Linked DNA regions of Homo sapiens: regions 1 and 3 are each linked to region 2. The links are contacts of gene promoters, found by promoter capture Hi-C in blood cells and fetal thymus (Javierre and others, 2016). All regions are on one chromosome and are shown on one strand. The core of a region is centred on a gene start or on the middle of the fragment in contact, and the rest is flanking DNA. Distances in the headings are between cores, read along the strand shown.

Region 1 (4,879 bases), core at 1,563-4,062, 1.6 Mb before region 2:
TGAGTAAACCACCACCTTGTGGCAATAAACATGAGTTGCAGGAGGAAGAGTTTGGTTTTTAATCTTTTGAACTCTAAAACACCTCAGTAGCCCTTAAATTTAGTTAGCAGGTTTTGCATTAAAATAAAACAAACAAAAAAGTACATCACTGAGGGAAGGGCTGATTAAAAATAGATACATTTGAAAAAATCTGACTTTTGGATAATAAATAAAAACACTGACCCAGCGGGGAGCAGTGGCTCATGCCTGTAATCCCAGCACTTTGGGAGGCTGAGGCAGGCGGATCATAAGGTCAAGAGATCTAGACCATCCTGGCCAACCAACGGGGTAAAACCCCATCTCTACTAAAAATACAAAAATTAGCTGGGCATAGTGCCACATGCCTGTAGTCCCAGCTACTCGGGAGGCTGAGGCAGGAGAATTGCTTGAACGCGGGAGGCGGAGGTTGCAGTGAGCTGAGATCACGCCACTGCACTCCAGCCCAGGTGACAGAGCAAGACTCTGTCTCAAAAAAAAACCAAAAAAACAAAAACAACAACAACAAAAAAAACCATTCACCTGTGTCACAAAACATGTAAAAGATGGAAGTTTTATTAAAAAGCAGGAGTGGCCCAAGGTGATTCATCTGGGAAAAAACTGATGAGGTTCCATGTTGTCCAAACTGTAATTTTTTTTTTCTTTGAGATGGAGTCTTGTTCTGTCACCCAGGCTGGAGTGCAGTGGCACGATCTTGGCTCACTGCAACCTCCGTCTTCTGGGTTCAAGTGATTCTCCTGCCTCAGCCTCCCAAGTAGCTGGGATTATAGGCATGCACCACCAGGCCCAGTTATTTGATACTTTTTTTTAGTAGAGACAGGGTTTCACCATGTTGGCCAGGCTCCTGCCCTCAAGTGATCCACCTGCCTCGGCCTCCCAGAGTGCTGGGATTACAGGCGTGAGCTACTGCACCCTACCCAAACTGTACACTTTTGAAAGTGAGAGGGGTTGCTATTAATAATTGCATGGGACAACAGGTGAAAAGTGGGGGTGTCCCAGGCAAACTGGGACATGTGGTTTACCTAAATTTGTTTCTGAGGTTTAGCCTGGCAAAGATGTGAGTACATTTTGTAATAGAGACCACATGGTAAGAAATTTAACCCTTTCAGAAAGAATAAATGTCACTATCTTTCCATGTGCTGGCAAGAGGAATTTAGCATCTGATTTGAATTTTATTTTGGAAACTAAATTCTAAGGGAGATTCCACACCATTCAAGAGCTTCAGCAACCACCACCTTGTGGCAATGAACATGATTTGCATCTAGTCAACTCAGTTTGCAATGTGGTGTCTTAAGGACTGCCTGTGGCTCTGCGTAATATTATCATGGAACTGAATATTGCCATGGGACTGAATGCAAGAAAAGAGTAGGTGGATTCGGAGCTGAAGTGGGAGAAGGCAGGATGACAGGTAGGAAGATGTTCGGTCTCCAGTATACCCATCGCCCTGTACTTCACAGAGGGTTGCTGGGTACCTCATGGCCAAACAGGGTATCAGCACTCCCTGGATGGAAATCATTTGGTGTATGCTTCACTTAGGAAGAATTGATATCTTAACAATATTAATTCTTCCTATCCATGAACACGGAATATTTCTTCATTTATTTAAATCTGTGAGATCTCTTTCATCAGCTGTGATTGATTCCTAGTTTAATTCTATTGCAGTCAGAGAACATACTTTGTTCTATCCTTTTAAATTTGTTAAGCTATGTTTTATGGCCTAGATTGTGGTCTATCTCAGTGAATGTCCCATGTGAGCTTGAGAAAGAATCTATATTCCGCTGTTGTTGAACTAAATATTGCATAAATGTCAATTAGATCAATTTGATATTTTTCAGTTCAACTATATCCTTGCTCATTTGCTTCTGCTGGATGTATTAATTACTTTTTAAAAATGGTATGAAAGCATTCTATTATAATACTGAGTTTACCTATTTTTCCTTGCAGTTTTATCTTCTTTTGCCTCACATATTTCGGTGCTCTGTTTTTAAGTACATACATATTAAGTATTGTTATGTCTTCCCAAATAACTGATCCCTTTAACTTTATGTAATGTCCCTGTTTATACCTGATAAATTTCCTTGTTCTGAAGTCTGCTTTTCTTGAAATTAACATACCTACTTCAGCTATTTTTTTAATTAGTGTCAGCCTGGTATAGCTTTCTCTATCCTTTTGCTTTTAATGTATTTTCTTGTGGATAACACACGATTGGGCTTTGTTTGTTTTTGAAATCCATTCTGACAATCTCTTTTTTAATTGGTGTAATCAGATTATTCACATTTAAAGTGGTTATTGATACAGTTGGATTAATATCTACAATGTCTGTAACTGTTTTGTATGTGTCTCACTTGACTTTCATATCTAATTTTGAATTTGTAATTTCATATTCTTTGCCTTAAAGAGAACGCTTGCAGATCCCTCAAAACCTGGAGACACCCCCCACCTTGCACACATTATACCGGTATGTGATGGTAGAAAAGCTGCACATCAGTCTTGGCAGGCAGGGCAGGAGGGATGCAGGGATTCACAGATGCGACTGTGCAACGCACAGATGCACTGGGTCTTTGCTTGGTGGGTTCGAAGCCTCCAGACGCTGACAAACACTGCAGCCAATGAGTGGGTTCCTATGGTCCGATATGGAGGGCAAGGGGCGGGACTCCCTCCTGCCTCTCCCTGGCTGGGTTCAGAGCCTCCGCGGAGAGACTGCGTTGGGCCCAGAGTGGGCGTGGCTTACGTGTCCGCCGGCTTTCCTGGCAGGCCTGGCGGGGGGGCCAGGTTGCCATGACGACCGCGGCTAGGTCGCGGCAGACTCGGTTGGTGACTCCGGGCGCGTCGAAGATCTTGTACCTGTCGTTCGCAGTGGCTCACTTTCCCAGTAATCCATAAGAACAGCAGGGATAACAGGGTCCCATGTCGTTTTTTTGTCAGAATTCCTCGACTGGCGACCCTGTGCCCGACAGGCTGCACCGCGCCCGGCGCACTGACTCCGGCCTCTGCGCGCGCCCCCTGGCCGGCTCCGGGGTGGGGAGGGGGCTTCGCAGATCCCCAGAAAACCGCCCGGCGAGCCACGAGCCCGTGGACTGCAGGCTCCGCTTCCTCGCGGGGTGTTCACTTTGTATCAGTGTGCTGATTTGCCGCCAGTTAGAAGCACCTTAAAAAGGGGCCGGGGGCCGTAGGAGGGGGGCTTGTCTGAAGGAGGCTCTGGGCTTGCTGATCCACGCAGCGGTTTGTCGCGAGGCTGCGGGGGAACGGCCCACGGCCGCGGTAACAGGGCTTCGTCTTCTTTGCAGAGCCATGGGCAGCAGGAAGAAGGAAATTGCCCTGCAGGTAAGCCTCAAGGGGCGCTAGCTTCCAGCTCTGGGTTGGGCTCGGGGAAGAGGAGGGTGATTAGAGCGGGGTTGCAGTATAAAAGTGACATTCTGTTTGCCAGCAGTACGTGACAGTGTTCTCAAACTTGAGTGATGTACCCTTCCGTCTTAAAGGGACAAAACTTATCTTGGAACCCCAGTGATGACAAATTTTACGCAAACAAAATTAATGCAAACAAAACTGAGTAGAAGCTGTTTACATTTATAGTGCTTATACAACCATAAAACCTAAACATGCATTAAATAAAACTATAAACTAAGAAAATACGAATCAACATAACTCGATGTGACCGTTATTTTGTTCTTGTTGAAATACAACTGCAGCTTGCACAGAGAATACAGTATAGGTTCTTTTGACTTTGGGCATGAGTCTGTAACTGTGTGCTCTGTGGAGACCCAGTTTTCCCACCACTGTTCTCATCAAATTTCACTTATTAACAAATATGTTTTGAGATATATTATGTGCTGGACATATGTTATATAGAGTGTCTTACTTCATTTGCATGTGGGACAAGTGAATTCAGAAGCCAGCAGCTGCTCTTCTTCTTGGTCCTGGACAATAGATAGTGGTTGATTCTGAAGTGATGGTAAAAACATGCAGGCATAGACCCTGGAATTAGGAGAGAGTGCTTGGTCATAAGGAGATCAGCTGGATGATCTGCAACATGGGAACATTTTAAAACGAACTTAAAATGCCTCATCATCAGCTGGCCCCAGTAAGATGCATACCAAGGCTACAGCGCCTCCTAGATAATAGAGCATTAGTGGTTTTGAGACATCTGGTTTCTCTCTTATTGTCCTCAGCAGGACCAGCAGTTTGCATGTGGATTTCAAAAGCCTAGTGGTTTAAAAAAGAGGAAAGGGGAAAGCAGCATCATTCTAAGGGTACCCCATGCTGGGGGTGGGAGGGGTGTGGGGTGGGGTGGGGTGGGATTTTTAGACTGGAAGTCAGAAGACCTGATGTAGTTCTTGTGTCCTCTATAGCCAACTGTGTCTTTGACTACATCACATAACCTCTCCAGGCTATAGCTTGCCCATCTATGGAATGAGGATGTTGTGTGAATTATCCCTAAGGGCCTTCTTCCAGCCTTGATATTCTAGGATTCTAGAGTCAGAAGCCACTTCATACGTGAATGTTCTGGTTGAAGTAAATTCTGATCAACTGGTCCTACCATTCATTGCTGTGTGACTCATTTCCTCAACTCTCTGGCCTCCGTATCCTTTACGTAGACAGGAGGGATGATACCTGTCCTGTAACGCCTGCAGAGCTGTGATGAGACTCCTTTAGACACTTCCTGGCTGGTCTGATGTTGTCTGTGGTGTCTCTAATGTTATTGCCCCATATTATGGTCATTTCATGTGTTGATGCCCTAGAGCTCCTATGGGGGTAATAACTTTTGTTAGCAATGTTGTTATTTTTTCATGTGTATTACTCAGAGCTCTGAGTACAATGCAGTACTCAAACTAAGTGCTCCCTC
Region 2 (4,891 bases), core at 1,405-3,904:
AAAGTTGATTACCCATGCCCTCAGAGTTAAAAAAATGCTAAAAACTTCTTAGTAAGATTAAAAACAATAAATGTAATAATGCTGATGGCATTTCTATAATATATTAAATAGTTTAAATATTAAATAGTTAAATAGTTTAACACTCGTAACAACCCTATGAGATTGGTACTGTTGCTATTTCCATTTTGCAGTTGAGGAAATTGAGACAGAAAGAGATTTGTCTAAGGTTACAAAGCTTTCCAGAGCAGTCTGGTTTCACAGTTCATGTTCTTAATCACTACACTAGCTGAAATTACAATGTTAGGATAAATTAGGAAATTCAAATAAGAGAGATGAATTATTTTAAGTGTTTGAGCTGCAGCTTTCTGGCAAGTAGCTGAACACGAGGAAACTCAGTTAAGGAAAAATCAAGAACAGACTAATTTTGGGAGACCTAAGAGAAGGCATGTAGTAGAGAACAGATTGAAGAAAGAGGAGGTGCTAGCAAAGAAATCAGAAGACCAGCAAACTAGGTAGGTGTAGATCCGGGGAAGTGTCTTAAAAGAAAGGGAAAAAGGGTTTCAAGTAGGGGATGGGGATTGGTGAAAACCGTAACTGTTTCTTTTGAGAATGTGTCAATGAAAGGAACGTTGATAGCATAGCAACTGGAGGGAGTAACATCACTGAATTAAAAAAAAAAAAAAGACAAAAGAAACTTTTTTTTTTTGAGACAGAGTCTCACTCTTATCGCCCAAGCTGGAGTGCAGTGGCGTGATCTCGGCTCACTGCAACCTTCACCTCCCGGGTTCGAGAGATTCTCCTGCCTCAGCCTCCCGAGTAGCTGGCATTACAGGCGCACACCAGCACGCCTGGCTGTTTGTATTTTTAGTAGAGACAGGGTTTCACCATGTTGGCCAGGGTAGTCTCGAACTCCTGACCTCATGTTATCTGCCCGCCTCTGCCTCACAACGTGCTGGTATTACAGGTGTGAGCCACCGCACCCAGCCAAGACAACAGAAACTTCTGAGAAACAGAAAGGAAGAAGACAGTGGATAAGAACATATTTACATTATAAGGCGCTAGGAAAGTAGTGGTGGAAGGAGAAGGTGGGAAGGGATGGCATAGTTTCAGGCAGAGGGAGTGGCTTTGGAGAGAAGGGTTCTGGGTTAATTTGGTTAGAAGTTTTGGGATCACGAACAGGAGGTGGTCACAGATATTTTATAATGGAGGCAAGGTCAAACCGGAATTGGAGTCCCATAGCTCTGAGCCCAGGAAACTGGATGAATTTATCTATTAGTATGGACTGGGACTGGCATCTTTAACAACATGGAAAGCTTGAAACAGTCTTTGTGGAAAATAGGAGATCAGCCAGAGATTAGAAGAAAACGCAAGAAAATTATAAGTAGGAGTCCAGTCACGAATTCATATCCAATCTGGTCAGTTATGACTTCCTCCAGCGAAAAGCCACACATCTTGCAAACCCTTGAGAGAGAAAACACAAATAGGGGTAACCTACTGGAGACAGGCCCTTAAGACTATAAAGTAGTTGAGCGATTCCATACTGAAATAGAGTTGGCTATAGCGATAGAGAAGTTAGTCATATATGGGGCTAATGATCCAGGAGAGTAAGGATTCACTTTTGTGGTGAAAAGTTGTAAGCAGGTGAAAGGTAGGGATCCATGGCCACGGACGGGCAGGTGGAGATCAGGGAAGAGGCGACGTTAAACATAAATAGTTTGTTAATGATTTCACCTTACTGATTATTTCTCTTTTGGCATCTAGAAGGCTAAGATTCTCATGTGTATTTCAGAGCTACTGAAAGTAGTCCTAGGTTGTGGAGGGAGAAATCCACTTTCACAGCTGAGTCTATCTTCTCAGTCTAGTTATATTCTCCTCTCACAAACTAGCCAATGCTGCCGCCTTATGCAAAGCCGACACCACGGAAAGATGTGCTTTACAGAGGCAGGATGACGCCAATCGGCCTAGGGCCGGCGGTGTTTCGTCTAGATTAATGGCGAGGGAAGTCCCCAATAGTCCTTTTGAAACCTTTTCACTCTTGCCTGGTGAAAGCGCTTGTCAGCCGTAAATCGCGAATACAATGCTAAGCTCTGAGGCCCTTGCTAAATCCAAGTAGGAGCAGGGATCTGCGCGGCCTCACCCTCGGGTTTCCGCAGGGCGTCTCGAGAGCTGCGGATGGGGGCAGCAGGAGCCGGGCGGGAACAGAGGAAAGCGCCGGCCCTGAGACCTAGGGAGGAGCCTCGGTGAAGGAACCCGGGGCGGGTTCCTGCCTAGATCTCCAAGAAGCTCCAAAAATGGCGGGCGGCAACTCGGCGAGCCGGACGCGCAGGCGCCACCGTGGCCGTCCTTCCGCCAGCCGCGGGCGGCCCAAGAACCGTCCACAGCGCCCTTATCCAGAAGCCTACGCCTCTCGCGATTGGCTGAACTGCGCGAGCGCTCCGTGTGGGGGCGGGGCCGCCACGCAGCGGCCACGTTTCCCGCCCCGCTGGTGCGCGTGCGCGCAATCCCCACTGGAAAGCGTTTGCGCGCGCCCCTGCCGCGGCCCCTAGCTCGCGCCTCAGCTCCCTCCCCTTTCCGGGCAGGCCCGTCCCGTCAGCAAGGCAGTGAGCACCGCGGCCAGCAGAGGGCGGTCCGGACCCAAGTCTGCAGCGGCGCCATTGGCGTGTGGAAAATGCCACCAGATGGCGGGTTAGGATTGCAGCTCCGTTGAAGGCGCGGCCCCCGCTCCCGAACCCCCGGCGACCACCCCGTAACAACCCCCCCACATCGGGAATAACACACCGGAGACTTTTGGGGGGAAACTAGGTCGATGGTCGGCGGCGCCCGGATGGGCAGCTGAGGTGAGTGCGGGCGGCGGCGACGGCGGCGGGGGGCGGGAAAGAGGGGGAATGCGGCGGCAGCGGCGCGGGGGCTGGAAGCGCCGATCCAAGATGGAGGCCGGGCGAGAGCGAGAGAGCGCGAGCGGCGAGCGGGCGGGCCGGGCGCGGGCCCCGTGCGGGGGAGGGAGGCCGCGCGGGCCTGTGCGGGGTGCGGCGGTCGTGGGCCGTCCGAGTGCCCGGAGAGACGTCTGTGGGCGCGGTGGGCACCCCGGCGTCTTCGTCGCTTGCCACCCCTCCCGCGGGCACCAAAAATTTTGCCCCCGCCCGCCCGGGCACTACGGCGACAGGCGCGGAAGCCTTTGTGGCGCGCTCGGGCCCGCCGCCAAGCCCGCCCTCCGCCCCCCCCCGCCCGGGCTCTCGGGAGTCGCCCGCGCCCAGCGGGGCCGGGCCGACGCGGGCTGGCGCGAATGCCTTCCGCCGCCTGCCGACCTGCGTTTCTGCGGTGTTTTAGCGGCGGCGGCGTCACATGACAACGAGTTCATTTCAGCGGAGGGGCCTGGGGGGTCGCTCGGCGGGGCGGCTGGCCCAGGCTTCTTGTTGGCGGGGTGGGGCAGCGGGGTGGCGGCTGGGGGAGATGCATCAATGCTGGGCTTTCCAGCTATCTGCCCTCTCAGCCCCCGACGGGGGCCTCCTTGTGAAACGTGTCCAGGCCTAAGCACTGCCCCGCTAGTTTGCCAGTCCCCTGAGAGACGAGGCCAATAAAAGTTGTTTTCCCTCCTTTCTCGAGGTGGGGGCGGGGTGGGAAACTAGAGTGCTTGGAGTTGGACCTGAGCCCCGTTTGCAGGGTCCGAACTGGGTTCTTCTTGTATGGTATGGGTACTAAGAAATTTTCAGGTTTTAGGATTGTCACGTCACCCCCATCTACCCACATTTGAAATGTTATCTGTCGATTCTCTTCACATTGCAGGGAATCGTGCTCCGGGAGTATAAGTCATAGGATAGTTTTGGACACTTACAGACAAAAAAAAAACAAAAAAAAAAAACGCAATTTGTCATAAAAAAAAATTATTTGCTGTTAAAGTTGGTGTTAAGATGGATAGAGTTTATTCTCGTGATTCTGACTAGAAAGACTTGCATCTTCGCAAAAATAGTGTTTACTTGAGAAAGTATCTGAATTGGCACAAAGTTGTGTGATTTGTAACTTATCTGGAATTTGAATGACTCTACATTTTAGTTTTCCTCGTGTTTTAAGAAAATTGCACATTCCGATGGTGAAGCACTTAGGGAAATATACAGAAGAGTGAAAATAAAAATAACTTGTTTATTGTATGGTAATGTAACGTACCTTGTTCTAATATTCATAATGTATGAGGAATTCAGACTGAAAAATTTTAACCAAGTAGGGAAATATGGAATGGAAAGAAGCAGAAATGTTATTTCCTTGCTTTTGATGATTAAGAATACTTATAAGACAAATTGTTACCCAAATAAAGTTGTAGAAGATCTACAGGTGTTTTGCCACGCATTTTCCTTTACATATTTAAAACGTACTTCGAGTAAACTAAATTAATTCAAGTGATCTACCAGTGGTCATTTTCACAAACGAACTGCTTTTGAGTGGAAATTTTTCTGTATCCACTTCAGTTTCGATGTTCTGATAAGGCTAAGGAATATTTAAATAGATGCAAAATATGGAAGTTTGTTGTGTTACTAGGATTGCCTCCTTTGAAGAGACTAATAAAATGACTGTAGATTTGATTGGCTCTTTTAAAGCCTTAAAGGCACTATGGTGTAGGGGAGAAGGAGTGGGTCCTGGACCGAAGTTACTTTGAACGTCCCCTGGGTTTGTGGTGTTCAGGGTGTTACCTTTGAGCCTTACTTTCTTTATCTCTAAAAATGGGGAGCTGGGCCCAGTGGTGCACTCCTGTAGTTCCAGCTACTCTGTAGTGAGGCAGGAGGAACCCTTAAACCCAGGAGTTTGAGGCTTACCTGGGCAACATACAAGACTCCATCTCTTTAAAAAAATAAAATAAAATGGGGATAGTATCTTACGGTGATTGTGTAACAAGATGTCT
Region 3 (4,814 bases), core at 1,984-4,483, 1.5 Mb before region 2:
CGGGCGCAGTGGCTCACACCTGTAATCCCAGCACTTTGGGAGGCCGAGGCGGGTGGATCACAAGGTCAGGAGTTCAAGACCAGCCTGGCCAAGATGGTGAAACCCTATCTCTCCTAAAAATACAAAAAATTAGCCGGGTGTGGTGGCACGCGCCTGTAATCCAAGCTACTCCAGACGCTGAGGCAGAGAAATGCTTAAACCTGGCAGGGTGAAGGTTGCAGTGAGCCGAGATCGCGCCACTGCACTCTAGCCTGGGTGACAGAGCAAGACTCCACCTCAAAAAAAAAAAAAAAAAAAGAGATGGAGTCTTGTTATGTCACTCTGGTTGATCTTGAACTCCTGGCCTCAAGCAATCCTCCCACCTCAGCCTCCCAAAGCACTGGGATTACTGGTGTGAGCCACCATGACCAACTGAGACTTTTTTACATAACACAGTTATGATGAGTCTGAAGATGCTAAGCAAATTAGGAGTAGGCTGTTGGTGAAATGTAACTAATGTCTCAAATACATCTAAAACTCACTGTATACAGTAGCTCCTCTGGAGTGACAGGACTGGTGAAGATGGTACGCAGGCATCGGAGGCAAGCTTCAATAAACTTCAGGTCTGGGGACAGTAGTCCTATTAACAGAAATGAGATTTAGGACTAATCCTTTCAACCAGTATTTAAAGCACTGCAAACTGATTCTTAACCTTAATTGAGCAAAAATGGCTTCCCTACATACCTTGCAATAAGGCAGGGATAATATGGCAGTCCAGTAGAGACTTGACATTGTTTTCAGTACCCATAGCAAGACTTCCCAACACCACTGCACATTCAGTTTTCAGCTCTGTGCTTGAGGTTTCTTGCTGAAGCAAGTACAACAATCTAAAAAGAAGGAACTTAATAAACGAAGAGACTAAAAAATTTAAACAAGACTCAATGTGACCAAAAAAGGCTGTGCAGTCCACATACTAAAAATATGGTTGGCTGAGTTTATATGAATCCAATGGTCATTTGTTTATCTCATCTGCTAATTAAAGAAACATCTGGAAAAAAAATCTAGAAGAGGTTTTGAAAAAAAGAACTATCATATTCTTAGAGTTTATAAAAAGTGTAAATCTGAAAGTTGTCCACAGATAGTCTCTGTAGAAACAGCGTCATCAGAGTCCATGTCATCTACCACTTCCTGCTGGGTCTCCAAAATATGAAGACTCTCAAATGCCATGTGCTGCCAGATCTTAAACTCAAACTAGAAATGCTACTGCTCTGAATCCAGAGCAGTGGTGCAGTTTGTAGATATCGAGCCTATAGGGAATATTCAGAGCCCTTGTGCAGCTCCTCAAGCAAAGGTAGTTTCTTCTTTCTCCAGCTCTCTCATTTGGAAAAGGAAGAGATCCTCTCATTTCCACTCCAGCCCAGCTTGCCAAACAAATACTCCCCAAACCCTAACCTTCCTCCACTTATAACCATCTACCTTATGTTCTAAGACAGGACCCTCATGCTCCATAAAGCACTATTTATATATACCAAACATAAATCCCCTAAGAAAGGCTGCTGACAGCTTTATAGTTACTAAAGTATATGTTTGAGGTTGGTGAGTTAAAACACTTAAACCATTAATTCTGTATCAAAACCAGAAAATAAGGAGAAAAAAACAAAATAATAAATAATTCTGAATGAAAAGCTAATAGCAATTGCACAGAAAACTTAGCTCTGAGGAGCAAAAGTAAAGAGGAAGTTATGTAACTGTCATTGCCTGCCTAAAGGAAGCTTATTAGGTCATCAAAAGAAGAAATTAAACTTCCTAAACTTCTTACGTTAACTTAAAAAACAGCAAGTTGTAAAAATCAGAAGTTAAAAAATGAAACTGGATTAAAAATCAAGCAGGGTTTTTTTCCTTTAAATTCAAAAAGGTCTTAAGGCTCCTAATAAATTACCCACTCACACAAAAAACTGCCAAGGCTCTAAGGAAATGGAGAAGAAAGTATCAGGCTGTTGTACATTGCATATGTACTTTACGAACCCTTTTGTCATCAGGTCAAAGGTCTTCCTGAGTTTCCAAAATGTATTAACACATTCACTTCTTACTACATTCTCTGTTACTTTATAATTTTTTTCCTTAAAGATAGTTTAAATACTTACATTTATTTTTAAAAATAGGATTTATTTTAAGAATTAGACAGACAATACAGGAAAAATGGGTTCTATAATTGAGAGTAAGAAATACATTAGAAACTAGTATGAATGGCAAGAAAGGGGTGAGACAGCAAACATACCTTGGAACAGCTCCTAAAACAATGAGATTGGCTTTCTGCTTGTTGTTTCCAATTACAGCATTTTTCATGTCTCTGAATTAAGGGGAAGAAAAAATAAAGTATGTTGAGACAGCACTGAAGAAAAATCAAAGATCATTCTACTTCATTATGCAATATCTTAGATTTGACAAAGTAAAAGCACTAACCTTTTTTCACCTAAAGTACTAATGAAGGGATAGAGATAGGTGCAGAGTGAATGTGGGGGCTGTAAAACGGCGTATTGTAGAAAGTGAGAGATATCCTGAGTACTGGCGAAAGACTTCCAGTACAGAATTGAGTTCTTCTAGAAAGGGTACCTACCAATACTTTGGATACAAAGGAATACAGGCCACCCTCACGCTCAGCTCTAAGAGTAGGGAGTGAGTTAAACGAACAACAACAACAACAGAAAAAACAGCCCACAGAACATTAACTCCTTGTTTCAATGATCACACTTTGTTCACTTTTTTTTTTACTTCTTTATATATTATTTCTTACAATTCCATTTTATCTGCTTTATTGTCTTACTAACTGTACTCCTTTGTTATTTTCCAATGCATCTTTTAATTTATCACAGTCAGTCTTCAAGTGATATTAGCCCATTGCACATGTATTTTAAGAGCCTTGCATATGTATTTCCACTTTCCCATTCATTTTTTGGGCTGCTGTTATACAATATTTTTAAATTGCTTAGAAACAACATAATACATTGTTACTATTTTTGCTTAAGCAGCCAGTTATCTCTTAAGGCGATTTAAAAAATAACAAAGAATCTTTTACATTTCTCAGATATTCACAGTATTTTTTATTCTAGCTATACAGAGCTCTATACTTCACCAGGAGCAAAACTCTATTCCACAATAAGAGAACCTCTACCACTGATCACTTGGCTCACAAATTTGTGGTTGGTTCAAAAGGAAATGTAGAGAAAAAATAAATAGCTCAAAATAAACCCAGTACTACTAATAAAATGTTTAAAAAAACTTCCCTGGCCGGGCACGGTGACTCACACCTGTAATCCCAGCTCTTTGGGAGGCCTAGGCAGGCAGATTGCTTGAACTCAGGAGTTCAAGATCAGACTGAACAACATGGCGAAACTCCATCTCTACAAATAATACAAAAATTAGCCAGGTGTGGTGGCACGCACTTGTGGTCCCAGCTACCTGGGGGGCTAAGGTAGGAGGATCACTTCAGCTGGGGAGGTGGAGGTTGCAGTGAGCAGAGATCGCGCCACTGCACCCCAGTCAGGGTGACAGAACGAGACTCCATCTCAAAAAAAAAAAAAAGAAAAAAAAATCAACAAATAAATGTTATAGTCAGCATACATTTCTAACACCAATCATATTTACTGGCATTAAAGAACCTGGTAACGATTAACCCTTGTCTTCAATTGCCTTTTTTGATTATTGCAGAAAAATACTGCAACAACTAGTGATGTGCTAAAAGCAGATTTTCCCTACAAGTTTCTGAATGGCATTTTTACAAGTCAAGCCAAATACTGAGAATGCCTGGTCTTTCTTCCATTAGCTCAGTGCCTGAGGGTAGGGCTTTTTTTCCAGGCCTGACCTATCCCTCTGTAAAGTATCCCTCAGATCTTCTATATGGTTTACAAGAAATAAGTAGCAATTTTTTTGTTGTTGTTTATGGGACTGAACTGAATGAAGTTTACTGAGGTTGTTAGCAAGTTCTGATACATGAATATAAAACTATATGATATCAAAGGATCAATTAGCAAAGTTAAAGTTAGTAAGAGATTTCTAAGCTCCCGCATCCTCATGGATGCCTGTTTTCTTTAGAGGCTTTAGTTCCTAATCATCAGCATATGGACCTTAACCTACCAGCTTGTTGTTCACTTTCATTGTCTTCCTTTCTCTTAATGTGTTCTGCCTATACTAATGTAGAACATTCATTTATCCAGCCCCTACCTACTTAGAGTCTGTGTAGGCTAAGTGCCATTCTGAATGCTTTCTATTCCAGAACTCCCAACCCTAATATTTCCCCAGTTTTTCCTCTCCATTCTTCTTAAGCAGAAATGAGCGGTCCCTAACATTACCAAATGAACCCATTCCAAACATCTCAAACCATGCCATGTTTTTACAGACAAGAGCAAACAAAAACCTGTCCAACACCAATTTTCTAATTCTCTTAATAGTTTACAAAAAGGACATGAAGGAGGTAACTGATGGCAACAGAGGAAATGCCAACTAAAGAGAACACAATACAATGGAACAATGTCTAAAGAAAAAGATTCTCGCTTTGGCTTTAGTAAGTAAATATACCTGTGCTAGATAAGGAAAAAAAGATGTTAATAAATTCTATTCAATTGTTGCTATAAAGGAATGTTAATAGATCACTTCCATGAAGAATTAAAATCAAAAGGATTAACAGGATTAAGCAATCAATTTCAGATGACAACATTCAGCCATCTAGATGAAGCTTCTTTCAGTTCCCAGAGTGTAGTTATTCTTTCTCCGTCATCTCCTTATCCCCTCCCTCATACTTTCCCCTGACTAGCTTTACTCATCCTTCAGGTCTGAAT

What was found. Contacts are between HindIII fragments. The CHiCAGO score rates a contact against its expected background, and 5 or more counts as called.
Region 1: the fragment with the promoter of NME9 here is called in contact with the fragment with the promoter of STAG1 in region 2 in 1 of 17 cell types (naive CD8 T cells); the score reaches 5.2 in naive CD8 T cells.
Region 3: a fragment that was not itself captured here is called in contact with the fragment with the promoter of STAG1 in region 2 in 1 of 17 cell types (monocytes); the score reaches 5.9 in monocytes.

What each region holds. Positions count from the first base shown.
Region 1 is chr3:138,327,784-138,332,662 of GRCh38, reverse strand. NME9 (NME/NM23 family member 9) reads left to right here and starts at 2,812. Exons shown (of 11, transcript NM_001349018.2): 1 at 2,812-3,360. The coding sequence starts at 3,328. LOC124909438 (a long non-coding RNA gene) reads right to left here and starts at 2,730. Exons shown (of 2, transcript XR_007096113.1): 1 at 2,493-2,730. The HindIII fragment of the contact is 16,828 bases long and covers 1-4,879 here.
Region 2 is chr3:136,750,141-136,755,031 of GRCh38, reverse strand. STAG1 (STAG1 cohesin complex component) reads left to right here and starts at 2,654. Exons shown (of 34, transcript NM_005862.3): 1 at 2,654-2,837. STAG1-DT (STAG1 divergent transcript) reads right to left here and starts at 2,361. Exons shown (of 1, transcript NR_185911.1): 1 at 1-2,361. RefSeq lists enhancers at 1,346-2,277, 2,071-2,390, 2,278-3,209 and silencers at 2,401-2,630, 2,951-3,330. The HindIII fragment of the contact is 7,208 bases long and covers 1,316-4,891 here.
Region 3 is chr3:138,219,441-138,224,254 of GRCh38, reverse strand. ARMC8 (armadillo repeat containing 8) reads right to left here. Exons shown (of 22, transcript NM_001363941.2): 3 at 2,258-2,329; 4 at 724-866; 5 at 522-619. Among named protein-coding and RNA genes, the nearest start is that of ARMC8, 35 kb to the right of the region's middle. RefSeq lists a silencer at 4,756-4,814. The HindIII fragment of the contact is 2,960 bases long and covers 1,754-4,713 here.